Regions from separate parts of the Homo sapiens genome. Here regions 1, 2 and 4 are each linked to region 3. The links are contacts of gene promoters, found by promoter capture Hi-C in blood cells and fetal thymus (Javierre and others, 2016). All regions are on one chromosome and are shown on one strand. Each heading gives the region's core, a stretch centred on a gene start or on the middle of the fragment in contact. The rest is flanking DNA. Distances are from core to core; before and after follow the strand shown. Region 1 overlaps LINC01572 (long intergenic non-protein coding RNA 1572). Region 2 holds the start of CFDP1 (craniofacial development protein 1). Region 3 holds the start of NPIPB15 (nuclear pore complex interacting protein family member B15). Region 4 overlaps TERF2IP (TERF2 interacting protein).

Evidence for each region. Contacts are between HindIII fragments. The CHiCAGO score rates a contact against its expected background, and 5 or more counts as called.
Region 1: a contact is called between a fragment that was not itself captured here and the fragment with the promoter of NPIPB15 in region 3, in 2 of 17 cell types (total CD8 T cells and total B cells). The highest score is 6.5, in total CD8 T cells.
Region 2: the fragment with the promoter of CFDP1 here is called in contact with the fragment with the promoter of NPIPB15 in region 3 in 6 of 17 cell types (total CD4 T cells, activated CD4 T cells, neutrophils and 3 more); the score reaches 9.2 in total CD4 T cells.
Region 4: a contact is called between a fragment that was not itself captured here and the fragment with the promoter of NPIPB15 in region 3, in 1 of 17 cell types (monocytes). The highest score is 5.1, in monocytes.

Annotation. Positions count from the first base shown.
Region 1 is chr16:72,660,704-72,664,864 of GRCh38, forward strand. The region is part of intron 1 of LINC01572 (long intergenic non-protein coding RNA 1572); the gene reads right to left. Among named protein-coding and RNA genes, the nearest start is that of LINC01572, 2.2 kb to the right of the region's middle. RefSeq lists an enhancer at 4,009-4,128. The HindIII fragment of the contact is 7,084 bases long and covers 1-4,161 here.
Region 2 is chr16:75,431,520-75,435,523 of GRCh38, forward strand. CFDP1 (craniofacial development protein 1) reads right to left here and starts at 1,984. Exons shown (of 7, transcript NM_006324.3): 1 at 1,770-1,984. The coding sequence starts at 1,833. It overlaps LOC124903723 (tigger transposable element-derived protein 1-like), which reads left to right and starts at 3,685. Exons shown (of 1, transcript XM_047435019.1): 1 at 3,685-4,004. The coding sequence starts at 3,783. RefSeq lists silencers at 1-163, 1,420-1,659 and enhancers at 1,970-2,479, 2,023-2,590. The HindIII fragment of the contact is 10,360 bases long and covers 1-4,004 here.
Region 3 is chr16:74,373,699-74,377,583 of GRCh38, forward strand. NPIPB15 (nuclear pore complex interacting protein family member B15) reads left to right here and starts at 2,608. Exons shown (of 8, transcript NM_001306094.2): 1 at 2,608-3,648. The HindIII fragment of the contact is 9,807 bases long and covers 1-3,885 here.
Region 4 is chr16:75,651,297-75,655,204 of GRCh38, forward strand. It overlaps TERF2IP (TERF2 interacting protein), which reads left to right. Exons shown (of 3, transcript NM_018975.4): 2 at 2,977-3,101. Among named protein-coding and RNA genes, the nearest start is that of TERF2IP, 5.5 kb to the left of the region's middle. The HindIII fragment of the contact is 2,243 bases long and covers 1,034-3,276 here.

The sequences.
Region 1 (4,161 bases), core at 557-3,056, 1.7 Mb before region 3:
AGGTTCAGCCATGTTGTAGATGTACATTAATTTGATTGTGGTGATGGTTTCATGGGTACATGTCAAAACTTATCAAAGTATACACTTTAAAAATATGAAATTTGTTGTACGTAAATTGTACCTCAATAAAACTACCAAATAAAATAGGCAAAACAGGTCAGGCATGGTAACTCAAACGCCTGTAATCCCAGCACTTTGAGAGGCCAAAGCAGGTGGATCCCCAAGGTCAGGAGTTCGAGACCAGCCTGGCCAATGTGGTGAAACCATGTCTCTACTAAAAATACAAAAATTAGCTGGGCATGGTGGCGTGCGCCTGTAATCCTAGCTACTCGTGAGACTTAGGTGGGAGAACTGCTTGAACCCAGGAGGAGGAGGCTGCAGTGAGCTGAGATCGCACCACTGCACTCCAGCCTGGGCAACAGAGTGAGACTGCATCTCAAAAAAAAAAAAAAAAAAAAAAGGGCAAAACATTTTTATAGATGCTTCACAAAAGACGTTCAGATAACAAGTGGATGAATGACTGACTACTCTATTTCATTAAGCATCAGAGAAATATAACTTAAAATTACAATGAGACATCAGTACAGACCCAGAGCAATAGTTTAAAAAATTTAAACTACTAACTACTATAAACCCCAAGGGCTGATATGACTGTTGAATAACTGGAACTGCCATATGCAGCTGATGGGAATGCAAAATGGGACAGCCACTTTTGAAAAAGGTTTTAAAGTATTTTATGAAATTAAGGCTGAGCATGGTGCCTCACACCTATAATCCCAACATTTTGGGAGGCTGAGGTGGAAGGATTGCTTGAGGCAGGAGGTTAAGACCAGGAGGTTAAGTCCAGCCTGGACAACATAGCAAGACCTTTTTTCTACCAAACATTACAAATTAGCTAGGCCTGGTGACATGCTCCTGTAGTCCCAGCTACTTGAAAAGGCTGAGGCCCAGGAATTCGAGGTTATGGTGAGCCATATCCTACCTCAAAAACAAAACAAAACAAAACAAAACAAAAATAGAGAGGAAAAAAAAAAGCAAAGAGCAAGCAAGCAAGCAAGAAATTAAAATCTTTGGCCACACAAACACCTGTAGCCAAATGTTTATAGCAGCTTTATTACTAACAGCCAAAACCTGGAAACAACTCAAAGCCCATTAACTGCTGAATGGATAAACAAACTGGTAATACATATAATGGAATACTACTCACACATTAAAAGAAAAAATTAGTGATACATGCAAGAACATAGATGAATCTTGAAAGTATTATATCAAGTGAAAGAAGCCAGACACTACCAGCTCATACTATGTGATTCCACTAACATGATGCCTCCAAACACAAACCTATAGCAGTAGATATCAGATCAAGGGTTGCTAGGGACCAATGGTGAGGATAGAAAATCGATAATAAGTGCATGAGACTTTACAGACTTACAGATATACTAAAAATGATTGTGATAGTTCACAACTCTTCACATTTGTCCAAACTCATAGAACAGTATTCCTTAAAAGAGTCAACTTTACCATATGCAAATTATGACTAAATATGCCCGACTTTGTTTTTTCAAAAGTGAGGGTGAGGTGGGATGGGGTTGGGGGAGACATTATATACAGGAGAACAAAGATAAGAATGACACCAAATATCTAAAAACAACAGCCAGAGGACAATAGAATATTAAAGTGCTAAAAAAAGTCAACCTACAATTATATATCCAGTTTAAAAATAAATCTTTCAAAAATGAAAGTTAAATAAAAACATTTTCTAAGAAACAAACACTGACAGAATCCTTCACCTACATGCAGTATTAAATAAATGAAGTTATTCAAACTGAAGGAAAATTATGAAAATATGGATCTACATAGATGGATGTATTCTATCAAACACTTAACAATGCAATGCCAATCTTATACAAACTTTTTCAAGAAGTAAAGAATACAACACATCCCAGATCACTTAAAGATGTCAGACACCATTACCCTAATTCTAAAACCAGACAATCAAAATAAAGCAAAACTGAAGACCAATCTCCCCAAAATGGCAACCGAACAGTGAAAAAAAATTTAGTTAAAGCCATTCCTCACATCATATATAAAAGCAAATTTCAGGTAAGCTAATGTTCTCATGTGAAAGATAATGCCTGAGATGGTTAGGAAGAAGATTATGAGATTATATTCAGGTATATGCTGGTAGAATTCACCATAAAATTATTTTAATATAAAACATCCAAAAAATTAAGGCACACAAACTATTTTCACTCTTCATGTTGATCAAGAATTTTCCTATTTCTTGTTAATTCAAAAAGACTCTGGATGCAATACCTTGTGAACTTATTTTTTGGTATGCCCCTGTGCTCATATACTACCTTACTACCTTTATCTCTCTGTTTTTTGTTTGTTTGTTTTGGAGATAGGCACGATCATTGGCCACTGCAGCCTGGAATTCCCCGGCCCAAGTGATCCTCCCACCTCAGCCTCCTGAGTAGCTGGGAGCAAGGCGAACACCACCACGGCTGGCTAATTTTAAAATTTTTTTGTAGAGATGGGGTCCGACTATCGTCTTGAACTCCTGGGTTGGTCTCGAACTCCTGGGCTGAAGCAGTCTTTCCACCTCAGCCTCCCAAAGTGTTGGTTGGGATTACAGGCGTGGACCGCCACACTTAGAAATGACTTTTCTAATATCCTTAAATCAGAGCTCATGTAAAATTTTCAGCCTTCTCATTCCACCTCCCTCCGAACTACAAGTCTTAAAACTAAGAAATGACAGCCATTCGGTAGAAGTTAAAACACTGTTTCGCTGCTTATTTCTACTTAAAAAAATTATATACATAGATATATATTATGTAAATATATATAATTATATATATAGACATACGTGTGTGTATATATATAAATAAACGTGTAGAATTGGACTGGGGTCCCACTAATATCCACATTTCAAAACAGAATCTAAAACTCCCTAAAACAGGGTTGGGCTCGGCGGCTCACGCTTGTAATCCCAACCCTTTGGGAGGCTGACACTGGAGATCAGTCTGAGCAACAAAGTCAGATCTCTTTTCTACTAAAACAAAATACAACTCTCTAAAACTAATACAAAATTTTGTGTGTATGTGTCATATTCTGGAGAAAAGCTCCAAGGTTTTCCTCTGGGTCTTAAACAGGACTAAGACCCCCCACCCCCAAAAGAATCTCTGTTCTAGAGGCTAAGCATATAGAAGCTCATACTGCATTATCAAACTGGAAAGTTAATAGAGGATTTTCATGGTCATATACAGGAGAGGTGGGGAAAGCTGTCTATTTAGACTGTAAACTCCTAAAATGTTCATAAATCTCAATGGAAATTAAATCCACCGGGGTGGGAGAAGTATCACAATAGACAAAGAAGCTAAAGGTTAATGAAGAGAAGGTTTTAATCAGTGGTTACTTTTGTGCTTGGGATCAATCCTCAGTTTGTCCTCCAACGTAACTTTTGGCATTATTCATTTCAAAGTCTGAACAGTATCCATAAACCCAATACGAAACCTATGGATCCAGAGGGTCCGACCGAAAACAAAACAATTATGTTTCCGATGTGAACGCATCAATAGCTTACTTTTGTAGCGCTTTATAAAACGCTGTCACTTGCTGCTTTCCACGTCATGATATTCCCGGTCGGGAAGAGTAGGACAGCAGCATCTTTTATGAATAAGGAATTTTTTGGATTCAATTTGTGAGGTGTGGGACGCTCACCAGGTTGCGCGAAAACCATTTTTCTACATCGTCAAGTGCACGCACCCCGTGTCTCATAGTATTAGTGATGAAGACGAGGATGAAACTACCAAAGACATCAGTGGGGAGTGAATTATACTTGGGGGAGGTGTAAGCACGTCGAAATAAGGAAGCTGAGAGACATTTTGTGAAAGAGGGAAGGTAGCGTTAAGAGGAGCCTTCCATCAGGGGCAACAGAACGGGGGCAGGCGTGGCGTCTCTGGGACTGCCGGAAAACGACGTGAGGGAAAAACTCAGAGGCTACGAAAAGGCGAACAGACGGAGGGCCTGCCTCAGGGGAGCTAAGCAGCTCGCCTGAAGCCCCCCATCTGGAAATGACGTGTTTAACTCGGCGCCCCTGCAGCTCCGGCCGCCCTTTTTTGTTTAACTCCGCGCCCCTCCAGCTCCGGCCGCCCTTTT
Region 2 (4,004 bases), core at 734-3,233, 1.1 Mb after region 3:
TAATCCCACCTACTTAGGAGGCTGAGGCAGAACTGCTTGAACCGGGAAGGCAGAGGCCGCATTAAGCAGAGACTGTGCCACTGCACTCCAGCCTGAGCCACAGAGCGAGACACTGTCTCGAAAGAAAAAAAAACACTGAATACTGATCTAACTAAAACTGGACACAGGTTCAACGGCAGACTACGGAGTTGGGGAGGCCCCGAAGGTGGAAGTGTTTGTGTGTGTGTTTGGGATGAGGGGAAGGAGGTCAGGGGCTACTAAAAATGATACCTACTATACATGGGTTAAATCAATAGACAACAGAAATATAATACCAAATTCAAAAGGTGGAAAGAAGTTTCTCCTGAGGAATATTAAATAAAATAGGGATGAGGGTGATGGGACTGGCTAACTTTTTTTTTTTTTTTTTTGAGACGGAGTCTCGCTCTGTCACCCAGGCTGGAGTGCAGTGGTGTGATCTCGGCTCACTGCAACCTCCACCTCCCGAGTTCAAGCGATTCTCCTGCTCCAGCCTCCTGAGGAGCTGGGACTACAGGCGCGTGCCACCATGCCCAGCTAATTTTTGTGTTTTTAGTACAGACGGGGTTTTACCATGTTGTCCAGGATGGTCTCGATCTCCAGACCTTGTGATCCACCCACCTCAGCCTCCCAAAGTGTTGGGATTACAAGCATGAGCCACCGCGCCAGGAATGGAATGGCTAGTTTTCAACGTGCCTTTTAGAAATACTTCACTAGCCGGGGCGCGGTGGCTCATGCCTGTAATCCCAGCACTTTGGGTGGCTGAGGTGGGAGGATCACTTGAGCCCACGAGTTCGAGACCAGCCTGGGCAACATAGCAAGATGCCATTTCTAAAAAAAAAAAAAAAAAAAAAAATTTAAAAAATTAGCGGGCGTGGCAGCCTGCACCTGCAGTCCCAGCTACTCCAGAGGCTGAGACGGGAGGATCGCTTGAGCCCAGGAGTCTGAGGTTGCAGTGAGCCAAGATCGCATCACTGCACTCCAGCCTAGACAACAGCAAGACCCTGTCTTTAAATAAAACAGAACAGAACAAAGTAAAACAAAGAGAATAGGGACGACTCCTGGGTTGTGTTTTGTTAGTCTGTTTGTTTCTTGTTTGTCTAGTCTTTCAACTGAAGATGTGAATGGGTGAAGATACTTTCAACGAGACGGTTTGTCTGGGGAAGACCAAGAAGGGGGAACAGAAAGATTTCTTCAGTAAGATTCATTCTCACCCCGTTCGGGTTGAGATCCCTAAGGAAAGAAAGTTCTGAGAGGAGAGGATGGGTGGACGTCACAATGAGGCAAAAAGCATCAAAGGGGGAACTTTCTATCAGAACTTTCTAACAACCAGGCGGAGAGCGGACAGCTCTATCTTGGACGGGGTGGTGGCCAGCAGCTCTCTCGGGCCAGGGCTGAAAAAAACCTCCAAGGCTCGGACTGCCGCCCCGACTTCTGAAGCAGCGGTGTCGTTCGGGGCTGACCGACGAGCGTCCCTAGCGACAAGGGGCCGTGTCCATGTGCCGGTTCCCGCGCTGCAAGAGGGGGCGGCGGCCGGAGCTGCCCAACGGGAGGGGAGCACAGAACCGCCACGCGCACACGCCTCGGGCCGGAGCGGCCGAGGATGAGGGGCCTGAGGGAGCGGACGCTCGAGAACAGGAGCCCCCCTGGACCACCTGGGCCACAGGGCAGACGCCCGCGGGGGCAGAGCGCGCCTCACGTGAGGCGTGGGGCGGGGCAATTCGCTTCTCGCCTCAGGCGGAATCGCTCACCCGACGGCACGTAGTCCTCGTCCTCCTCCGACGTAGAGAAGTCTTCGGAGTCGAATTCCTCCATGTTGCTGCCGCTCGACGCTGGTCAAACTCACAAGACCGCAGCAGCCGCCTCCAACGGCAAAGCTCTAGGGAGAGACCATAGAGCCCCGGCGGCGGCGACGGCAGCTAGGGCGGCCCCCGACAGCGCTTTGCACATGCGCAGAGAGTACTACGTGGTTGCCCTACGACACTTCCGGCCGATGCCTCCGGGCTGGCGTCCCTGAAGCCCTCGCTGGGAGCCCGAACCCGCCCGGACGCGGTGCATGCTGGAACTTGTAGTCTTCGGCGCTGCCTCGCCGCCTTAATATAATAAACCTGCTTAAATAAAATTACATATCTATGGAAATACAGGTGACCTTCATTAATCATTAATTCGTAATGCCAAATTCACTTACTTGCTAAAATGTATTTGTAACCCTAAAATCAATCATCACGGTACTGTCTGGGGTTCTTCCCGGGCATGCGCAGAGGGTGAAAATTTGGAGTTGGCGGAGGTAAGGTTCCCAGCTGAAGTTTGAACTGGGAGAAGCGCCGCCTTCTAGTCGCAGCTCCTGTGCTGTAAACAAAGAGTCCTTTCCGCAGTCTGTTTACTGACACTTTTTTTTCTGCTTTTTGTGGGTGGTTTTGCTTTCTAAAATGGCCCCCAAGCGTAGTGCTTAAGCTCTGCCCAGTGTTCCTAAGCGAAAGAAGACCGTGATGTGCCTTACGGAGAAAGTCCGCGTGTTGGATAAGCTCCAATCAGGCATGAGTTACAGTGCTGTTGGCCATGAGCTCAATGTTAACGAGTCGACAATCCGGTACATCAAGAAAAAGGAAAAGGAAATTCACCGATCTGTCCGTGAGGCCGCTCCGGATAGTGCTGAAGTGACCTCCATCGTGCGTGATGAAGCTATGACAAAGATGGAAAAGATGGAAAAGCGGCTAAATTTGTGGATTCATGAGATGTCAATCGATTAAAAAAAACATAGTGGACAGCATTGTGGTGAGGCTGAAAGCCAAAGATATCTGTGGTCACGTTACCCAGAGTCAAAGAAATGCTAAGCCCTTCTCGGCGAGTGCTGGCCGGCTCGCGCGTTTCAAAAGGCGATACGGGGTGAAAAATGTTAAACTTGCAGGTGAGGCGAGCTCTGCAGATCAGGAGGCTGCGGAAGAATTTTAAAAATACTTGCTAAGTGTTATACAGGAAAAGGGTTATGTGAAAGAGCAGGTTTTCAATGCGGATGAGACTGGCTTATTTTACAAGGATGTTGGCAAACGAACCTATATAATGCAAACGGCCTCCAAAGCCCCTGGCTTTAAATCATGCCAGGATCATGCACCCTTGTTATTGTGCGCCAATGCCAAGAGCGACTAAAGTGCAAACTCCTAATGGTGTAAAGAACCCAAAATCCACAAGCACTTAACGGGAAATACGTGAACCATCTGCCAGTCTATTGGAGGTGGAACAAAAAAGTGTGGATGATGTCTGATTGGTTCCACAACTGCTTCATCCCAGAAGCTGAACACTGTCTCCAGGGCAGAAACCTTGCCTTCAAGGGTTTTTTGTTTTGTTTTGTTTTGTTTTTTGTTTGTTTGGGTTTGTTTTGTTTTGGTTTGGTTTTGAAACGGAGTCTCGCTCTGTCGCCCAGGCTGGAGTGCAGTGGCGCAATCTCGGCTCACTGCAAGCTCCGCCTCCCGGGTTCACGTCATTCTCCTGCCTCAGCCTCCCGAGTAGCTGGGACTACAGGCGTCCACTACCACGCCTGGATAATTTTTTGTATTTTCAGTAGAGACGGGGTTTCACCGTGTTAGCCAGGATGGTCTTGATCTCCTGACCTCATGATCCGCCTGCCTCGGCCTCCCAAAGTGTTGGGATTACAGGCGTGAGCCACCGCGCCGGGCACCTTCAAGGTTTTGTTAATTTTGGATAATGCTACAATCCATTGCTGCAAAGAACTCGAAAATGCACACGCCAACATAGGAGTTCTTTTTATGCCCCCAAACACTAAGTCTCTCATCCAACCCCTCAATCGGGGCATAATAAAAGCATTCAAGGCACACTACACAAGGGAGCTTTATATGAAGGCCTGTGAGGCTCTCAGGACCAACAAGGAAACCACCATGCTGGACTATTGGAAGTCGGTCACTACATGCAACGTTATTGATTATGTCAGTACAGCCTGGGAGAGCATTGGTCAGGCTACTACCAATAAC
Region 3 (3,885 bases), core at 1,358-3,857:
GTCTGTCTCCTCAGTGCCTCTCCTCTGTTCGGACCTCTCTGTCCCTACCACCGCTGCTGTGGTTGAGAGGGTTGTCAGCCCTGACTTCGAGAACAATCTTTTTTTTTTTTTGAGATGGAGCCTCAGTCTGTCGCCCAGGCTGGAGTGCAGTGGTGCGATCTTGGCTCACTGCAACCTCCGCCTCCCGGGTTGAAGTGATTCTCCTGCCTCAGCCTCCTGAGTAGCTGGGATTACAGGCATGCACCACCATGCCCCGCTAATTTTTGTATGTTTAGTAGAGACTGGGTTTCACCATATTGGTCAGGCTGGTCTCGAACTCCAAACCTTGTGATCCGCCCGCCTCTGAGATCAGAACTGAGATCACGCCACTGCATTCCAACCTGGGCAACAAGAGCTAACTCTGTCTCAAAAAAAAAAAAAAAAGTTTTTAAAGACAGGGTCTCGCTATGTTGCCCATGCTGGTCTTGAATTCCTGGGGTCAAGTGATGCTTCTGCTTTAGCCTCCCAAGGAGCTGGAATCATGGGTGCCCACCACCATGCTCGGCTACTATTTTCTTCAAAATTCAAATATTCTAGCTTAACAGTACCTATTAGATAAATAAATGGCAATTTTCTGGAACATTCTTTTTTTGGTTTTGTTTTGGTTTTTTTTTTTTTTTTTTTTTTTTGAAACGGAGTCTCCCTCTGTCGCCCAGGCTGGAGTGCAGTGGCGCAATCTCGGCTCACTGCCAGCTCCGCTTCCCGAGTTCACGCCATTCTCCTGCCTCAGCCTGCCGAGTAGCTACGACTACAGGTGCCTGCTACCACGCCCGGCTAATTTTTCTGTAGTTTTAGTAGAGACGGGGTTTCACCGTGTTAGCCAGGATGGTCTCGATCTCCTGACCTCGTGATCCACCCGCCTCGGCCTCCCAAAGTGCTGGGATTACAGGCTTGAGCCGTGGCACCCGGCCCAGGAACTTCTCTTATATCTAGAAGCCAGGCTTGGTGACTCTACTTGCTCACCAGATGATCCTACACCTGCCACCTCCGATGGATCCACTGCCTCTGTGCCTGCCTGTACTGCTGATGCTCCAGTGGATAACTCAGCATCCCAGCCTAGGCCCAATGCCACTGAAGATGGACCTGCCCCCTGGAGACCCAGGAGTTCTACCACTCAGCTGTCCCCAGAAGTGCCCAGACCCTCATTCTTATCCAGGACCTAGGAGCCCTACCCCCTGGCCTTCCGTCATCAGCCGTAAATGATGATTTACTGCTGTTACCATCATCACTGCATTTAGTAACCAAGGGCCTTCCAAGGTGCCAGCTCTGGAACGAAGGATGCCTTTGGGAGGTGATGACACTCAGGTACACGGGTGCTCAACAGATTGCTTCCTCCTATCCTCAGATGGTCTTTGCATGCATGCAGCCATTGGCACTCCCATTGTACGCAAGGAAACCAGCCCAGGGTCACACAGCTGGTCAGCAGCAACACAGCTGGTCTCAAATCTAAGGTGCCTGGCCATGCCTCCATGAGGGACCGCCTGCAAGGGAGGTTGATCCTGGCTTTGGGGAGCCTTTCCTGGGCTGCACGAGTAACCTCCAATGTTTGAGGCCCCAAACTCTGCTCACATCTTCCTTTCCCTGTCTCTGCTTGGGCTATGATCACGGTGACTCTAGCAACCCTTCATGGACATTATAGTACTCTCTGCCATTCACTTTTGGTCTAATCTGACTTCAACCCCCACTTACTTGGTCTCTCCTTTTACAACCAACACAACCGAAATCCGAGGGCTTCTTTTTTTTTGAGACAGAGTCTCATTCCATTCTGTCACCCAGGCTGGAGTGCAATGGCACGATCTCGGCTCACTGCAACCTCCACCTCCTGGGTTCAAGGGATTGTCCTGCCTCAGCCTCCTGAGTAGCTGGGATTACAGGCGGGTGCCACCGTGCCTGGCTAATTTTTGTATTTTTAGTAGAGACGGGGTTTCACCATGTTGGTCAGGCTGATCTCGAACTCCTAACCTCGTGATCCGCCTGCCTCAGCCTCCCAAAGTGCTGGGATTACAGGCGTGAGCCACCATGCCCAGCCAAATCTAGGGCTGGAACATGGCTGCAGCATATAAATAGAATTGAATTCCATAGTTTTGTTAACCCTGTTTTTTGTTTGTTTGTAGTTGTTGCTGTTTTTGAGACTGAGTCTCGCTCTGTCGCCTAGGCTGGAGTGCAGTGGTGCAATCTCGGCTCACTGCAGACTCTGCCTCCCGGGTTCAAACTATTCTCCTGCCTCAGCCTCCCAAGTAGGTGGGACTAAGGCGCCCACCACCACACCCGGCTAATTTTTGTATTTTATTAGAGACAGGGTTTCACCATATTGGCCAGGCTGGTCTGGAACTCCTGACCTTGTGATCCACCCACCTCGGCCTCCCAAAGTGCTGGGATTACAGGCGTGAGCCACCACACCCAGCCCCTGTTTTGTTTTTGTTTTGCTTGTTTCTTAGGGTTGTTTTTCTATTTATGGTAAAGGCATTGGCTTTCCATTTGTAGCATCAATAGAATATTTCCTGTTTACAATAACCTTATGTCATAGTAAATGGTAAAGGGATTTAAAGCAGTGGTTTTCAGCTGCCAGAGGCCTGAGTGAGTTTGGGCACACTCTGTGTGATCGGGCAGAAGGCCTGTGGGAAGTTCAGCTGAGGACAGGGCCAGGAAAGGTGATGGACAGTGGGGGTCTGTCCTGGTCACCAGACCCCTGGGTCCTGCCCACCTGCTTGGAGCTCCCCACCCATCACACATGATGCTGCCAAGCCCTCTGGGTATTGTGGGCAAATACCTTAGGAGAGAAGCTGATGAACTTTGTTTCTTGAAATGCACAGATTCCTTGGACGTCCCTGAGAGGTCAATGATGAAGGTCAACTTGGTTTTCTCCCCCTCATTTGGGTTCAGAATTTAAAGTCCACACACACAGGCAGTAAGATGATTATAGATAAGGACATCATCACTCGGTTTCAGATGTTAAAATGTCTAGGTGGGTTAGGGGTGATTTGAGATCACACAACCTTGTGCCACAAAGAGGAATTCCCAGGCCAGGGGGAGACATTTTATTGCCATGTTATGATCTCATCATTGAGTTGAAAGGCAATCTTGTTTCATTTTGGATTCTTTCTTATGTTTATGTCTTATAAGGGCACTTTGAATTTCCAAGCAAATAATAATTTTGAATTAGCTTTTAATCATTGACTTCTAGCACAGTTATATGATCAGAAACATGCTGTGTGATTTGATTGCTCTCAAATATATTGAGATTTGCTGGAACAAAATAAGTCAGGTTAATTTTTGTAAATGTACCATGCATGCTTAAAATGAATGTATCTACATTTGTTCCTGAGATACAGGTTGATGGACGGATGGCTACATGGATGTGATGGAGATGGTTTACTATCGGGACCTTCCGCATCCTGCTGATGTTTTGTTGCTTAGGATATGAATGGCTGAGCGGAGGCTGTAAAACCTGGCACTCTGCTTGGGTATGAAGTTCTTCCTGCCATCCTGCCATCATTTGTTTTTTATGTTTTGTCGCCAAAAGTGACCTTGAGGAACCCTGGGAGCTCAGGAAGGAAGGAGAGCCCAGAAGCAGGGACAGGGAGCTGGTTGGGGAGGACCAGAAATCAGGTTTGTGAAGGTTCCAGAGAGGACCTGTCCTTGCGAGGAGTGTGGGAGACTGAGATGGGGGAGGGGTCATTGGAATGATGCGGGCGCTACTTGGCATTGTCCATTGTGAGGCACCACCGGGGTCATCAGGGATTGGTGGAGAGGGAGTATAAAGCCCCAGGGTTGCTAAGGGAGGGCCCAGACCGAAGAAGGTTTGGTGGATAGCAGAACCTTTTTGTCTCCCTCTAATTGCTCCTA
Region 4 (3,908 bases), core at 905-3,404, 1.3 Mb after region 3:
AATAGAAAAATGAGAAAAGGAAATGGAACAGGAAGTTCCCAGAAAAGGAAATAAATAAGCGGCCGATAAACAAATGAAGAAATAGTCTGTTATTAAATGAAAGTAAATCAGACCGAGTGCGGTGGCTCATGCCTGTAATCCTAGCACTTTGGGAGGCCAAGGTGGCAGACCACTTGAGGTCAGGAGTTCGAGACCAGCCTGGCCAACATGATGAAACTCCGTCTCTACTAAAAACTACAAAAACTATCCAGGCATGGTGGCATGCGCCTGTAATCGCAGCTACTCAGGCAGCTGAGGCATGAAAATTGCTTGAACCAGGGAGGTGTAGGTTGCAATGAGCTGAGATCAAGCCCCTGCACTCCAGCCTGGGTGACAGAACCAGACTCCATCTCGGAAAGAAAAAAAGAAGAAGAAAGAAAGTAAATCAGACCCTGAGCCTAGGGTCAGTATAAGCTATACTTTGACCCATGAGACCTGTGAGATAATAAATATGTGTGTTGGAATTGTTTTGTATTTATTTGATGAATTGAGATAGCTTCCATTATACAAAATAGAACAAAAGCTCCCCAAGTTATTTATTTTTTTTAACTAAATCAGAGCAAGGAGATGTTATACTTTATCTATAAGATTGGCAAAAGTCAATACAATGGGTAATATCCAAAGTTAGTGTATGGGAAAACAAGTATACTCCTACGTTGTTAATAGAAATTGATACAATTTCTTTGGGGGGCATTTTGACAATATCTGATGACATTTATAACGTATATTCCCTTAAACATGGCAGTTTTGTTCTAGGAATTTATCCCGTAGATATACTCAGAGTACAAATGGGTACATACTGAAAAGGCAGTCTCCCTATTTACATACCCTTTTCCCTGGGTCCTTTCCTAGGGGCAGCCTCTATTACCGTCTCTTGTCTGTTGCATGTCCCCTTTGCTCATAGTAATACTAGCACACTAGACATCAACTTAATCTGTGGTTTACTTTTTTTAAACTTAATTATTTATCTTGAAGTGTTTGTGTGTCTGCACAAAGCTTTTCCTCATTCTTTTCTAATTGATTGCACTGTATTTCATTATGTGAATGAACAGTAATTTACTTTTTATTATGGAGAATTCCAAGCATTTACAAATACAGAATAGTATAATGAACTATACTGCATATACCCATCACCCACCTTCACCTGATTTTAGTTCATGGCATTTTTTAAATCTATACTTTTCATCCCAACTTCCTGGACTGTTTTGAAGCAAATGCCAGACATCATATCATTTTATCTATTTTAGCATGTATCTCTCAAAGATAAGCCTCTTTTAGTTACTATTTAAGAATTTTATTAAATACATACAGTAAAATTAACTTTTTATGGTGTAAAATTATATGCATTTTAAAAACTTTATTTTTTATTGTGGTAAAATGTATATACCGTAAAATTTACAGTTCAGATAGTTTTTTAAGTGTTCTGTTCAGTGGCATTATTAAGTGCATTCACATTGTTGGGCAACTGTCACCACCATCTGTATCTAGAACTTACTCATTTTCTAAAACTGAAACTCCATGCCTTTTATTATTTTCTGCTTCTAGGGGTCAGAAACATGCCTATTAAACACTAATTCCCCATTTCTCCCTCCTCTTAGCCCCTGGAAACAACCATTCCGCCTTCTGTTTCTATGAATTCAATATTTCTAGATACCTCATACAAGTAGAATCATGTAATATTTGCCCTTTTGTGTCTGGCTTATTTCACTTTACATAATATCTTCAAAGTTCATCCATATTGTAGCATGTGTCAGAATTTGATTCCTTTTTAAAGGTGAATAATATTCCATTGTATGTATATACTACATTTTGTTTTTCCATTAATGTATCAATTGACATTTGGCTTATTTCCATCTTTTGTTTATTTTGAATAATGCTGCTGTGAACATGGGTATAACTAGTATCTGTTTGAGACCCTGCTTTCCATTATTTTAGGTATATGCCTAGAAATGCAATTGCTGGATCATATGGTAATTTTATGTTTAATTTTTTCTTTTTCCTTGTGGGTTGTCATCATGAAATTATATTGAATTTTTTGAGGAACTGCTGTACTCTTTTCCAGTTATATGTGTTTTAACATAGGTAAATTTTTGTAACCAGCACCCACATTGGGATTTAGAACAATTCCATCACGAAAAACTCCCTCTTGCTGCCCCTTTGTAGTATGTTTTAGTAAGTAGAAAAGGAGCAGAGTTAAATCTTCAGAGAACAAAATGTAAAGGAAAGGAACAGGATGTTTAAATTTAGGAGGCCCTCCTTTTTGTAGATGGTATATTGGTGGATTGTGGTACGTGGCCCAGATCTGCCTTTGGCTGCTAGGAGAGCTGCCTTGCCCAAACTCCTGTCTTCTTAGGGCTGCCACCATCCAGTGACTGATATTTGCAGAGTTACAAAGTCTGCTCCTTGGCCCCAGCTTGGTCAGTTCTGAAGGGCCTTCCTAGCTCCAGAGTTGCCCATGGTTTTGGCTGAGGTCTTGTTGAAACTCTTTGATAAGTCAGCTTCTCTCTCTGCCCACTCCTGCTCTTCCACAAAGGTTTTCCCAAAATCACTTCCCAATTCTTTAAATTTCCATCTCCATCTCAGAATTTGCTTCCCAAGGAACCCAATTTATGACACATTTTTATTAATTTGCAAAGTCTGTAACTACAAAGCAAAAAATGAATTAAACTTGAGCATTTTTATATGTCAGAGTTTAAGAATGTATCATTGTTTGGATAGTACATCTTTTCAGAAGCAAGCATAGAAATGGGTGAATGAGCACGTCCTAGGCTTTTTTTACCCTTCTGAATCAAGAACAGATGTCTTCTGATAGTAAAAAAAAAAAAAAAAAAAAAAAAAGTGCAGGCTCACTCCTGGCCCAGAGCTCACACAGCAAATATATTTTTGGTTTATGTAAAAGAGGCTATTGCTAATCTGTGCTGTTCTTCTCTTTAACAGAACCACAGAATAAGAGAACTCCAGATTTGCCTGAAGAAGAGTATGTGAAGGAAGAAATCCAGGAGAATGAAGAAGCAGTCAAAAAGATGCTTGTGGAAGCCACCCGGGAGTTTGAGGAGGTTGTGGTATGTTAACTAGATTTACTCATTATTTTTTTCCCTACCTTCATTCTTCTTTGAAACTGGTTATCCTGTACACCTTTTTCATCTACCTGGGGCTCAGGAAAGTGAGAGAGGAGTTCAAGATGGAAAGGGAAAATGGAAAATGGGACTGATCTGGGCTTCAGACATGTTGCCCTGAAGCTTTTGCTTCACAAAGCTTTTAGTTTTTGGCAGGACAAGTTGAGGGGGAAAGGGAGAAAAATTGGGTAGAATAGGGACAGTTGTATAAACAGTATAAAGCATCCCACTTTGAGTACTTTAATGTCAATATATTTTTCAAAAAGTTTATAGTAATTGTTTTTTCTATTTTTTTGAGCCAGAGTCTGGCTCTGTCGCCCAGGCTGGAGTGCAGTGGTGCGATCTTGGCTCACTGCAAGCTCCGCCTCCTGGGTTCACACCATTCTCCTGCCTCAGCCTCCCGAGTAGCTGGGACTACAGGCGCCCACCACCATGCCTGGCTAATTATTTGTATTTTTAGTAGAGACGGGGTTTCACTGTGTTAGCCAGGATGGCCTCGATCTCCTGACCTCGTGATCCGCCCGCCTTGGCCTCCCAAAGTGCTGGGATTACAGGCGTGAGCCACCGCTTTTTGTATTTTTTTGAGGTGGAGTCTCACTCTGTCACCCAGGCTGGAGTGCAGTGGTGCCATCTCAGCTCACTGTAGCCTCCACCTCCCAGGTTCCAGCAATTCTTCTGCCTCAGCCTCCTGGGTAACTGGGATTACAGGCATGTGCCATCATGCCCAGCTACTTATAGTAATTTTTTTTATCA